Linked DNA regions of Homo sapiens: region 2 is linked to region 1. The links are contacts of gene promoters, found by promoter capture Hi-C in blood cells and fetal thymus (Javierre and others, 2016). All regions are on one chromosome and are shown on one strand. Each heading gives the region's core, a stretch centred on a gene start or on the middle of the fragment in contact. The rest is flanking DNA. Distances are from core to core; before and after follow the strand shown.

What was found. Contacts are between HindIII fragments. The CHiCAGO score rates a contact against its expected background, and 5 or more counts as called.
Region 2: a contact is called between the fragment with the promoter of RBBP6 here and the fragment with the promoter of USP31 in region 1, in 1 of 17 cell types (non-activated CD4 T cells). The highest score is 5.9, in non-activated CD4 T cells.

The regions. Positions count from the first base shown.
Region 1 is chr16:23,146,996-23,153,812 of GRCh38, reverse strand. It overlaps USP31 (ubiquitin specific peptidase 31), which reads left to right and starts at 4,361. Exons shown (of 16, transcript NM_020718.4): 1 at 4,361-5,175. The coding sequence starts at 4,543. RefSeq lists an enhancer at 3,961-4,180 and silencers at 4,361-4,460, 4,611-4,660, 4,761-4,860, 4,991-5,220. The HindIII fragment of the contact is 4,661 bases long and covers 2,200-6,817 here.
Region 2 is chr16:24,535,144-24,541,960 of GRCh38, reverse strand. RBBP6 (RB binding protein 6, ubiquitin ligase) reads right to left here and starts at 2,395. Exons shown (of 18, transcript NM_006910.5): 1 at 1,169-2,395. The coding sequence starts at 1,334. RefSeq lists enhancers at 745-1,737, 1,738-2,732, 4,159-4,453 and silencers at 1,949-2,128, 2,399-2,448. The HindIII fragment of the contact is 3,955 bases long and covers 800-4,754 here.

The sequences.
Region 1 (6,817 bases), core at 3,112-5,611:
GTGTAGTGGCTCATGCCTGTAATCCCAGCACTTTGGGAGGCCAAGGCAGACGGATCATTTGAGGTCATGAGCTCAAGACCAGCCTGGCCAACATGGTGAAACCCTGTCTCTATTAAAAATACAAAAATTTGGCTGGGCGCAGTGTCTCACGACTGTAATCCAGCACTTTGGGAGGCCGAGGCGGGCGGATCACGAGGTTAAGAGATCGAGACTATCCTGGCCAACATGGTGAAACCCCGTCTCTACTAAAAATACAAAAATTAGCTGGGTGTGGTGGTGCGTGCCTGTAGTCCCAGCTACTTGGGAGGCTGAGGCAGGAGAGTCGCTTGAACCCGGGAGGCAGAGGTTGCAGTGAGCTGAGATCGTGCCACTGCACTCCAGCCTGGCGACAGAGCAAGACTCTGTCTCAAAATAATAATAATAATAATAATAATAGTACAAAATCAGCTGGGCGTGGTGGTACATGCCTGTAATCCCAGCTACTTGGGAGGCTGAGGCACGACAATGGCCTGAACCCAAGAGGCAGAGGTTGCAGTGAGCTGAGATCATGTCACTGCACTCTAGCCTGGGCGATGGAGTGAGACTCCATCTCAAAAACAAAACAAACAAACAAAAAACTTCTACGAGATAATATCTATAAAGGAATACACCGAAAAGAATAATGGGCAAATGGTGTGTGCAGGTGAATCACACCAGTAAAAATAAAATCGCTAATTAAAAGGTATTCCTAGTTGTTTTCTTGATTGCAAACAGCAGAAACTGACACTGGTTTGTTTCCCCAATAAAGGATTTACAGGAAACCTATCAGGTTAGCTCACAGAAAGAACAGAGCCAGAGAAACAGGCTTGGGCAGAAACCCAGGGACACAGACACCAGTAAGAACTTGCCACTAGAGTAGCAGCTGGACACTTGCTGCTACCACCCCCACACTGTACACCACCGTACTGCCACACTGCTAAATATATAGCTGCTAGATTCATTAATTCACTGCATTATCTCCAACGAACCGTGTATCAATACTTCTAGAGCCAAAGTCTAGGTAGGAACATATAGTTGGTCTTGCTCTGTCACCCAGGCTGGAGGGCAGTGGCACGATCATAGCTCATTGCAGCCTCCACCTCCTAGGCTCAAGTAATCCTTCCGCCTCAGCCTCCTGAGTAGCTGGGACTACAGAAGTGCACCACCACACCAGGCTTATTTATTTATTTTTTTAGAGACGGGATCTCGTGATGTTGCCCAGCCTGGTCTCAAACTCTTCCCGTCTCTGTCTGCCTGTGCTGAGATTACAGGCATGAGCCACTGCACCCGGCGGTGGTCTTTTTTAGGTCATGTTCCTGGGCTCTAGCTTCCAGGGGTAGGAAGGGGAATACCTGCTCCCTGCCACCCTACCCAGTTTTCATAGTGGGATCTTGAGTGGTCCTGCCTAATTTGGTATCCCTTGCAGACAGGAAGTTGGTTGAGATGTTGGATAGCAGAGAGACTGGCACATGATGTTCAACCTTACTCATACAAACAAAAAGTGCATTAATATGCCATCTTTTGTTCATCAAACTTGTCAATGTGAAAAAGACTGGAAAACTCAACAGTATGTTGGGATTGGGAAATGTGCATTTCCCATTAGTTGCTGACAGGATAAAACCTTTCTGGGGGTCAGCTTGACAATAGGTGTCATATATGGAATACGCATACCCTTTGATCCAAGGTTTCAGCCTAAGGAGATAGCTACATGATGGACAAGGTATAGGTCATGATAATATTCACTGCACTGTTGTTTCTAATTTACGTTTCCCGAGCTTAGGGGTAAGGGGTGGTACAGAGAGGGACAATGAAAGATTCACTACAGAATGTTCAAGGTGAGTCTTTAAGAATGATCATCTGAACATTCCAATGAGGAATTTTTTCAAGCCTGTGTCAAACTTTGAGGCTCAGTGGAGACCTATAAGACCTGTAAGCTTAGTGAGAGGGGCCCAGACTGGGAAGGCAGTTCTTAGGTATCCCACCAAGAAGTTCAGATATTGTTTAGAGGCCGGGCGCGGTGCCTCATGCCTGTAATCCCAGCACTTCGGGAGGCTGAGACAGGTGGATCACTTGAGGTCAGGAGTTCGAGACCAGCCTGGCCAACATGGTGAAACCCCGTCTCTACTAAAAATACAAAAATTAGGGCAACACGCTCGGGTCCCCTTCTACGCTGTGGAAGCTTTATTCTTTTGCTCTTCACAATAAATCTTGCTGCTGCTCACAAAACAAAACAAAACAAAAAACAAAAAACAAAAATTAGCCAGGTGTGCTGGCAAGTGCCTGTAATCCCAGCTACTCAGGAGTCTGAGGCAGGAGAATTGCTTGAACCCAGGAGATGGGGGTTGCAGGTGAGCTGAGATCCCGCCACTGCACTCCAGCCTGGTTGTTAGAGTGAGACTCCATCACACACACATACACACACACACACACACACACACACACACACACACACACGACATTGTTTAGGTATAAAGTTGCCAAATAATCAACCTGTTATATAATGGCTACCTTACTGGGTACCGAATAATGAGTAAGATGGGTCTCTACTGGGTTGAAGCCCACATATTAGTGAAGGTGATGATTGTAAACTGAATTGCAATATGGTCAAGTCAGTGTCATGAATGAGAGGTGCCAAGAGGGCCTGTGGAAGGGACATCTCCTGGAGGGGGTGATATCTAAGGTGGGACTTTAAGGATGAGGGGAAGTTAGCTAAGTAGAAAGGTTCTAAGTTAGCTAAGGAAAGGTTCAAGGGAGAGGGAACGGCTCCAGCAAAGGCCCTCGAGTCTAGATCAAACTGCCCAGAAGTTGAGGGCCATTGCATTCACATTTTAGTGTGAATAATCAGATGGCTTTCTTCCTGGTGTCCAGATAAGAATTTTGACTAAGAGGAGAGTGGAGCCGATTAGGGACAGTGCAGAGCACCCTGGAGATGTCATCATAGAGCCCTACTTACATTGGGGAGGGAGGTCAAAGGTAAAAACCATTTACTTTGAAACGTGGTGTAAGGTGGCCTTCATGTTTTAAAAAGGAGGAAGGGCTCTCCCTTCTCTGATTTCTCTCTTCTGCCTCAGGACTCAGACTAGCCCTTTTAGCAGAGGGGAGCCTATAGAGAGGAGGTCATATACTAGTTGATTTTGGACTAAAGGCATCCCAAAGATGTACTATTTTTTGCTCCCTGCACTATTTTTTTTTTAATGGAACCAACGTTTAAAAATAGGATTTCTGCCTTCTCTTAAAACATCAGATGATCTGGTAACGCTGAGCTCCTGTTCTCACATGGGAACAACTGGCTGGAGCTGAGTGGCAGCCACCTCTTTAGAAAGATGTTAATTTGAAGTCTGCTATAGTCCCCATCATTCCTTATATTTCCCCCAACACTGAGACCCAAGTCACTTGAAAGTCAATATGATGATTCAAACACCAGGATTCTTCACTCATTTGTGGGTTTGTGACCTGTGATATTTGTGGATTCGTGACCTTTGGTTTAGAGGTCAAGTATAGGGGTTGTAAATAAAACTTGGGTTTGAATCAGATAAGAACTGTACCAATCTCAAAGACGGTGAATTAAAGATTAAAGAAAATATTGCATGCTTGGCATAATGTGTGGAACACAACAGCTATTGTAAACACCCAGTAGGAATGTAAGCTGCAAGAGGGCAGGTAGAAACCGTGCTAATTTAATCCGCTGGGGATATGACATTTGATTCTAATTTAATAGGTTTAATTCTTTGCAATATCCCCAGTAACTGCTGAATGAATGAGTGAGTGAATGAATGAATGGAATGATGAATGATGGGAGAGCCCGGAGGAGTTTTAAAGGCTGGAATGAAAAGGAAAGTAGTTATGATAACAGCGTTTCGCTGGGACTCCAAGGTGCAGCCAGGAAGAAAAGCCCGCTGGGACGTGCCAGGGTCTGTGACTGCGCTCCGCTGGCACCCAGAGGGTAGGTATCTGCAACGTCCCTTGGGAGCCAGACAGGGCTGACTTGCCCAGGACCTGTCAGGGCCATGTCCACCAGCTCTTGCACGGTCTGGTAACTGACAGCATCCTGATTCCTGCACGTTCCCGCCTCTGCCATCTGACCAGCAAAGACAGAGACCCACCCCGGGGATCCACCATCCAACGGGAGCCCAGCCTTTTCCTCCAAGCCGGGACGGCGCCCACACTAGACATGGCCTCCCTCGGGCTTCACGCAGCAGGACCGCGCCCGCAGCCTCCAGGCATCGCGTCCGGCTGGAGAGGCAGCTACCGTCCCACAGTGAACATGGCGGCCGAGGCGGCTTCAGCGCCGGGCGGGCGGCGCCGGGAGGCACGTCACGTGAGCGGCTCAGCTGGGCGGACCGCGCGCGCGCCCGCTGGCCCCGCCGGCCGCCGCTCGCTCGCTGGCTCGGCTGCGCTTTGAGGTGTGTGGGGCGTCGAGCCCCCGGGCCCGGTGAGGCGCGGCGCTGCGGGATGCGGCGGCGGCCGTGGCGGGGCCGCGGGCCGGGCGGGCGGGCGCGGTGATGAGTGTCTGCGGCCGCCGCCATGTCCAAGGTAACGGCGCCTGGGTCCGGGCCGCCGGCGGCGGCGAGCGGGAAGGAGAAGCGCTCCTTCAGCAAGCGGCTGTTTCGGAGCGGCCGCGCTGGCGGCGGCGGCGCGGGGGGCCCCGGGGCGTCCGGGCCGGCCGCGCCTTCCTCGCCCTCCTCGCCCTCCTCTGCACGCTCGGTGGGCAGCTTCATGAGCCGCGTTCTCAAGACGCTGTCCACGCTCTCGCACCTTAGCTCTGAGGGCGCCGCCCCAGACCGCGGCGGCCTCCGCAGCTGCTTCCCGCCCGGGCCGGCCGCCGCGCCCACGCCGCCGCCGTGCCCGCCGCCGCCCGCCTCTCCCGCGCCGCCCGCTTGCGCCGCCGAGCCGGTGCCCGGCGTGGCGGGGCTCCGCAACCACGGCAACACGTGCTTCATGAACGCCACGCTGCAGTGCCTCAGCAACACCGAGCTCTTCGCCGAGTACCTGGCGCTGGGCCAGTACCGGGCGGGGCGGCCCGAGCCCTCGCCTGACCCGGAGCAGCCTGCGGGCCGCGGCGCGCAGGGCCAGGGCGAGGTCACTGAGCAGCTGGCGCACCTGGTGCGGGCCCTCTGGACCCTGGAGTACACCCCGCAGCACAGCCGCGACTTCAAGGTGAGCCCGCGCGCCGCCGCGCCCCCACTGCACCCCGAGCCCCTGGGGCACCTGCCCGCCCAGGTCTTCCTTCCCTCGGTTCCTCTTGGCCCGGCAGGCTTCTGCATTGGTTGCTCCGAGTGGTCTGGGCAGTCGACCAGTGATTTTAAGGAGATTCATTCATTCATTCATTTATTCACTCACTCACTCACTCAAACATGTATTTATTGAGAACTTACTACATACGTGCCCATACTCTGTGATAATAGGCAATGGGAGTGACGTTGCAATGAACAAGACTATCCGCCTTCATGGAACTTGCATTTTTGTGGGGTGGGAGTGTTGAGCATGGGTTCAAATCCTGGTTCTGCCACTTACTAGCAATGTGACGTCGGGTAAGTTAAGCAGCCTCTCTGTTCTTACAGTTTCTTCATCTGGGGGACCTACTTTGTAAGGTGGTTGTGAGCTGCAAACAAGTTAATATATTAAATCGAACACTGTGGAATTACCCATATTTAACCGTTTTTTATTTACAGATTGGCACTTTTATAGGGTTCAACCTGATAAGTAAAATACTTCCATATCATGTGTATTTGCTGCTATTATTTTTGTTATTAAAGACTTGAAGAAGTTAACGAGATAATATCAGATAGTGGTTTGAAGAAAGAAAAACCTGCTGCTGTGATTGATGTGCTGACAGGCTACTTTTTATTTTTATTTTATTTTTAGAGACAGGGTCTTGCTCTGTTGCCCAGGCTGGAGTGCAGTGCTCACATAGCCTCAAACTCCTGGGCTCAAGCAATCCTCCCGCCTCACCTTCCAGAGTATTTAATAGCTGGGACTACAGACACACACCACCATACCTACCTATTTTTTATTTTTAAAACACTTTTGTAGAGACGGGGGTTTTGCTGTGTTGCCCAGACTGGTCTTGAACTCTTGTCCTCAAGCCACTCTCCCCGCTTTGGCCTCCCAAAGTGCTGGGATTACAGGGGTGAGCTATACATCCCTGGGGGTATGTATGGCCCTTGGCCAAGCCCTCCTTTGCTGTTTGCTGGTGGGGCTGCAAGTGTAGTGAGAGGGTGAGATTTGAGAGCCGAGTGGTGGGCTGGGACCGGATGGTATGGGACCATTTAGGATGCACTAAGAAATTGGGCGGTTACTCTAAGCAGAAGGGGAACATGATGTGAGATTGTGTAAGGGATACTTTCAGGTGGGACATGAATATGGTATTAAACAGCATGGAATCGGGCGGGGCGCAGTGGCTCATGCCTGTAATCCTAGCACTTTGGGAGGCCAAGGCGGGTGGATCACCTGAGGTCCGGGGGTTCGAGACCAGCCTGACCAACATGGAGAAACCCCATCTCTACTAAAAATACAAAATTAGACGGGCGTGGTGGTTCATGCCTGTTATCCTGGCTACTCAGGAGGCTGAGGCAGGAGAATTGCTTGAACCTGGGAGGCGGACGTTGCAGTGAGCCGAGATCGTGCCATTGCACTCCAGCCTGGGCAACAGGAAACTCTATCTGTAAAAACAAAACAAAACAAAAACAGCGTGAAGTCACACAGGGAGAAGGTTAATTCCTTTTTTTTTTTCCTATCCTAATCTTGCCCAGGACGAAGTCTCAGCTTGATGTTAGCCTGTTTTTAATACCTCTTGTTC
Region 2 (6,817 bases), core at 1,146-3,645, 1.4 Mb before region 1:
TGGAAAACTGGTCTTCTACATGACAAGATTTACTCTACCTAAACTACAGGCTGGAGGTGGGGGACCTCCCATTTCAACTAAAAGAATCCATGTCACACCTTAAGTGTGATAAAAATTTAGTGACTAAAAAAATACCCTAACCTAATTGTAACTTCACTTCTTCTCATTCCATCAGTAACTTTTAGAACACCGAACTGCTAAAAAATACACATCAGCATTACTGATCTGAGAAAAAGAAACCAAAACAAGTTCAGAGTCAGGAAAGACTGCTTGTCACATTTATCTACTGTTAAGTTCCCAATATTATCAAAATACTTTTGAAAAGGAGAAAGAATCTAACGATTCTTATCAGTGGCTTATTTGTACTCTATGGTAGCAGCCTATTTTTCAGTACCTTAGTATCAACAGTCACGTAAAATCTAGCAACTACTACTTTAAAAAAAATCAGTACTTTTGATCTTCACCGAATTGATAAAGCTTAAGAGTAATGTGATGAACTAACAGTTTAACTACTTAATTGCCGTATTACTAATTCTGGAATTGACACACAAGACAAGAGCGGTGACATCAGAACATTTCAAGATCCAAAAACAATTCCAATACTGATTAAATCCTCAAAAATATTAAAGTTCAGATCCCTTATCCACAACACAGGCAAGCAACTCCAAATAAATAAATGCGAGGAGGGAGGAAGGCAGGACATAAAATTTGCCATCAAACTCCACAATGTTGTTAGGTTAGAAAATTGTTTTTTTGGTTTTTTTTTTGTTTTTTTTTTTGCTGATTGAACAAACAAGCTTTGCACAGGCTCTCCTGCCCTCCTGATGGAAAATAAGTTAGAAAACGCCCTAAGACAAGCACTCAAAGAGTCTAGATAGCTATCCCCCTCTCCTCCCTCCCTCATTTTAAAAAACAGCGAGAAGAATAATCAGGCTTCCACGTTTTGGGTTAGCCTGTTACAGATGACCCAAGTATGCAGAAATAAAATAAACCAGTGAAACTCCAAGGCCAACTGCTGCAAACCTTGGCTATCAATGAAAGTTGTATCCAAAGTACTAGAACGAACAGTCCCCACTAGAGACATAATGGCGGTTAGCTTCCTGCCAGGCACCTTCTAGCTAGTATCTCTCTCCAGCCACCAAATATCTTAAGACCAAGCGGCCCTTACCTTCTTTCGTCTGCGCATTGGTGATCTGCAGGTCGCAGTCGGCAGCTTTCAGCTTCTCTCTCCCCATAATCTGCTTCTTTAAGTCGCAGAGGGAGATGTGGAGCCCATCAAAGGTGACGGTATCATAGTTGAGTTTAGAGGAAAATTTATAATGCACACAGGACATGGTGCCAAGGGATTCCTAAGGTTCAGCGAGGAGACGTGGACACTCTCAATATACGTATATTTATAAACTTTAAGAGCAAAATATGTACACACAAAACACTCAAAGACACCGAAGGACCCTAAGGCCTCAGATTAAATACCCCCCAACCACAAGCAGGGGTTCGTCAGAACAATAATCCAGAGACCCCCCGATACTCAGAATCACTTCATGGGGGAGGAGGAGGACGAGGACGGGGAAGAGGGGAAATCGAGAATCCGCCAACGGGCACAATGTCACCCGGCTGGGTCCCCCTCGCTCATGCTAAGGGGCCGGCAGAGACGGGGGGATTGGCGGTGCAGTCAGTAGCGGTCAGTCCACACGTTAAGAGTCCGAGCGACCCCACGGGGTCAGGGGTCCATAGCGCGGCCGCACCTCCCGGCGGGTCTCTCTCTCCGTGGATTGGGGTGACCCAGGCCCCGGGAGAAGGTTGAGGGGAGAGGGCCTAGGCCCGGAGTCCACGAGCGGCCTCACGCCTCCTCCTGGCTTCCGGACGACCGGCGTCAGCTTCCCCAGGCCCAGGCCCAGGCCCCCACCGCACACAAACCCCTGGCGCCTGCTCCCCGGAGGCCACGAGCGGCCCCACGGCCTAGGCCGAAAACGCGCGGTCGGCGGAGGAGAGGCCTTCCCGCAGGCCGCCCCCGGCTCCGCCTCCCCCCGCCGCCGCCGCCGCCTCGGACACAAAGCCGGCGCTAGGCCTCGGCGAGGCCTCGGAGCACTTCCTCACCACCCCGGGCCCCAGCCGGCGGCCGGGTGGCTTCGGCGGACCCCGGGGACACCGCCGAGGCTCCCTGACGCTTCTTCTCGCCGGATCCTCCGCGCTTCGCTCGCCTTTCGTTTCCGTCGCCTTGAGGCCCGGAACCGCGAGAACACGCCCGCAAGCTGCTGGGCAGCGGCTAGGGCTTCTCCGGCTCCCTTTTTGTGTTGGCCCCCTGCCGCTCGGGGGCTCTCACCGAGCGGCGGCGACACCTCCAAGCCAGGTACTATGGCGGACGCGGCCTGGCTTCGGACGAGCGCCCCACTGCGGGGTCTCTTAAGCAGGGATTGCACGGGCGGCGCGCGCGAGGCGGGGCTGGCGTGCGCGGATAGGCGGGCCGAGAGGCGGGGCGGCTGACGTCACAAAGCGCACGGCCCGCCCACGTGACCCCGCGCTTTGTGACTCCAAAGCGCGGAAACTGAAAGAGCAGGGACAACGGGAAGAACCATCTGCTTCAAAAGGGAGGGGGGTTGCGCGTCAGGAGGACCGGCTCACAGGGAGGCTCGGTGGGGAGAGCTCGCCTTGCAGGGGCTGCGTGCAGTTTCCACTGCAAAGTGGCTTGCCTAGGGGTGGCCGGCTAACTCCCCCTTCCCCACAGGCCCCGTCAGCTCCTCTAAGCCTCCCAATTTAAGTGAGCATTATGGTTGCTACGCAGAAAACTATGGTTGCTATGCAAGCGCTCCCTAGCTGCTGCTTCCAATAAACTGGCTACCCTATACTCTTGACAAGTGGAAATCGTGGAGCAGCCGCTGCCAAGAACTGATAACAGCCACCAGCACCATACAGATTTATTGAGCTCTTACTATGTGCTAGGCACAGGGCTGATCGCATAACAACATTGCCAGGCTCAGCAGCCACGTTGTCTGGGTTGGATCCCTGGCTGTGGGGGCTCTAGATTTAACCCCTCTGTGCCTGGGTCTCCTTGGCTGTAAAATGCCATTAAAAATAGTACTTGGTTTACTTGGATTAAATAAATGCACATAAATCCATAGTCTAAGACCATGCCGGTGCATTGACGTGGCTCAATGCACCGAAATATTAATAGCTGTAGCTCAATAAATGTCAATTTAACAACAAAAACCCTACGTGGTCAACATGACATTATTTCCGATTTATAGATGATGGAACTGAAGCTAGCAATCATGTACTTTCTGAATTTGCAGAAGGGGATGCCTGCTCAGTGGCAGGGTCCCGATTCCATTCCTAAGCGCAAATGCCAGGAACAGTGACAAGAACCCCCTCAGTAGATTGGAATTTTTTTTTTCCTTTGGGCATGGGGACGTTATTACATTCAGAAAAAATCATAATATAATAAAATTACATTCATAAACGATAGTTATTATCGTTTACAATCCATGTTCCTCATCCTCTCTGAATTTTACAGGCTAGGCTCAGTGAATTTAGGCAACTGAGAATAAGATCCTATAGCCGAGAAGTAGCAGAGTTTCCCAGGGACTTCCTGCAAGCACACTCCAAATTCTTACTGAACTTGATTTAAAATTAATCACCATCCTGCCAGAAAAGCCTTCCTAAGGCCATCTTTTTAAAATAAGATGGCGATCTTTCTCTATCCCTTTAGTCTTTTCTTCCTAGCACTTGCAGATAGTTGACAGTTACACATTTACTTTTTAATTATCTATCTCCCCCAACCCCTACCTTCGGCTGACAATAGGAATCTTATCTTTATATTTGTTTTTGCTGTATCCTCAGCTCTTAGAACATAGTAGGTGCTCAATAAATACGTGCTGAATAACTGGATACATTTTTACGTGATCCATAGAGATGTCGTGGCAATAAAATTTTGGCCGTAGTCAAGGGCAGCTCTAGAGATACCATTACAATTTAACTCAACCACACACATCAGTACTTTTCATATATAACAAGTTTCTTCCACTTTTACCTCTTTGTTATTTCACCAAAAACTTATTGCTGCCAGGTCCTCTTCAGGTTGGTTGCTTTTTTCTTAAAAGCCTCTGTGTGAATGAAAGGGCGAGGGCTATCTCTAGTGAAAGAAAAACTCGACGAGAAAATTGCAAGCCGTCATGGAATTCACTCCGAAGCGGTGAATCTGTTCCTTTTGCCCGTCTGTGGCCGACCCCTTTATATACTGAATGCCTAATTTAATCAGCGTGGTGCATCATGGGATCTCAAAGTGGGCCACACCCTCAGGATATGACAGAGTGGATCATAACCTAATCTGCAGGGGGGGATGTCCTTGGAAAGAATGTTGTCTATTGGTCCAACCGTTCTCATCTGCCAAAAACTTTGTTCAACCTTGATATTCTCACTTACAGAGGCCTCACTTCATATCACATCAAACAGGTCAAAATGCATTCACCACCTGCAATAAGCCTATGACTTGAGTTGCCTGACTAATTGACACAATGCTACATTTGGTCCATTTCACTGAATTCCTTTACTAATCTTCATTTTGCAGTTTTCTTTTTTTAAAAAAAAAACTTTTTATTTTCTTTTTTCTTCAGTGAGCTGAATTGTAAATTTTGCCGTTTTCTTTGGGTAATATGGAGCTGGTCTCCCTGACGCTTCTCTCCCTACCAATATTTTTGTAAGCCCTGAAAAAGCCTTTTGTACTATCCTACAGTGAATGAAGCATTCCTGTCTAAGCTTCTCATAATGTAACAATTCTGGAGCTCCCATGTCCCAGGATTTCAAACCTTTGTCATTCTCAAACCCAGTATAGCCTCATACCATTGACCATAGACAGTTAGTAAACCCCTTAACTTATTTTCTTATGTCAAAATTCAGTTCCAGCAAGCGGAATTGGGAGATCCAAGGAGCTCTGCCTGCCTGCTGTCTGTAGTGAACTACTCAAGCTCAGGAAGTCGGAATGAGATCTATTTCATGGAGGCTGTTCTCTTTTTGTTTGTTTAATTATTAGTAGTATTATTTTGGAGTCCGGGTCTTGCTCTGTCACCCAGGCTGGAGTGCAGTGGTGCAATCACAGTTCACTGTAACTTTGAACTCCTGGGATCAAGTAATCCTCCTGCTTCAGGCTCCTGAGTAGCTGGGACTATAGGCTTGTGCCAACATGCTCAGCTAATTTTTAGTTTTTTCAGTAGTGTCAGAGCCTCACTATGCTACCCACCCTGGTCTCAAACTCACGGCCTCAAGCAGTCCTCCCGCCTTGGCCTCCCAAAGTGCTGGGGTTACAGGACTGAGCTTGTGCCTGGTCCCACGGAAGCTGTTCTATGCTTGTATATTGAATGTAATCTTAAAAATGCACTAACAAGGCCAGGCATGGTGGCTCACGCCTGTAATCCCATTACTTTGGGAGGCCCAGGTGGGTGGATCACCTGAGGTTAGGATTTCAAGACCAGCCTCGTCAACGTGGTGAAACTCTGTCTCTACTAAAAATACAAAAATCAGCCTGGCGCACTGGCGCACACCTGTAATCCCAGCTACTGGGGAGGCTGAGGCAGGAGAATCACTTGAACCCAGGAGGCGGAGGTTGTGGTGAGCCGAGATCTTGCCACTGCACTCCAGCCTGGGTGACAGAACGAGACTGTACCTCAAAAAAAAAAAAAAAAAAAAATAGTTCTAAGCCTCTGTGTTGTCAGTCCAATTCACAGAAGGTAGATACATCCCTTACATCACACTGTATTTTCTCCAGAGAGTTGATTGCTTTTATGTTGCCTTTCTATTTTATTTAATATTTCAGCCTACAGTTGTTGGGGTATTTTTTATTTTTTTGCAGTTTATGTAATACAGCCCATCGACCGGCAGGGTGCTGTGGCTCATGTCTGTAATACCAGTACTTTGGGAGGCTGAGGTGGGAGGATAGCTTGAGCCGGGGAGTTTGAGGCAGCAGTGAGCTATGATCGTGCCACTGCACTCCAGCCTAAGCAACAAAGGGAGAACCTGTCTCCAAACAAACAAACAAAAGTCCATTGACCTTTCTCCCTTTATGGTTTTTGCTTTTGCTTTGAGAAATGGCTTGTAGCCCACTCAGCACTCACCTTAGATATTTTTTTGCTATATTTCCTTCCAGTTTATATATAGCTTCATGATTTTAAACTCCATAATCAATCTGATTTTTTTTGGTATATAGGGTATAATATAGAATGAAGATCACTGTATTCCCTTTTTCATTGTGAAGTATATTGTTAATAAAGAGTCCATGAGTGGTGGCTCACACCTGTAATCTTAGCACTTTGGGAGGCCAAGGTGGGAGTATCACTTGAGCCCAGGAGTTTGAGACCAGCCTGGGCAATATGGCGAAAACCCATCTCTACAAAAAATTAATAACTTAATCAGGCATGGTGTCGCATGCCTATGGTACCAGCTACTCAGAAGACTGAGGTGGGAGGATTGCTTGAGCCTGGGAGGTTGAGGCTACAATGAGCTGTGATTGTGCCACTGCACTCCAGCCTGGGTGACAGAGTGAGACCCTGTATCAAAAAATAAATAAATAAATAAATAAATAGAAAAGGGACAAAATATATATCTCGCTCTGTTGTCCAGGCTGGAGTACAGTGAGACAATCTCGGCTCACTGCAACCTCCACCTCCCGGGTTCAAGCGATTCTCTTGCCTCAGCCTCTCGAGTCACTGGGATTACAGTTCAGCACCACGCCGGACTAATTTTTGTATTTTTGGTAGAGACGGGGTTTCACCACTTTGGCCAGGCTGGTCTCAAACTCCTGACCTCAAGTGATCCACCTGCCTCGGCC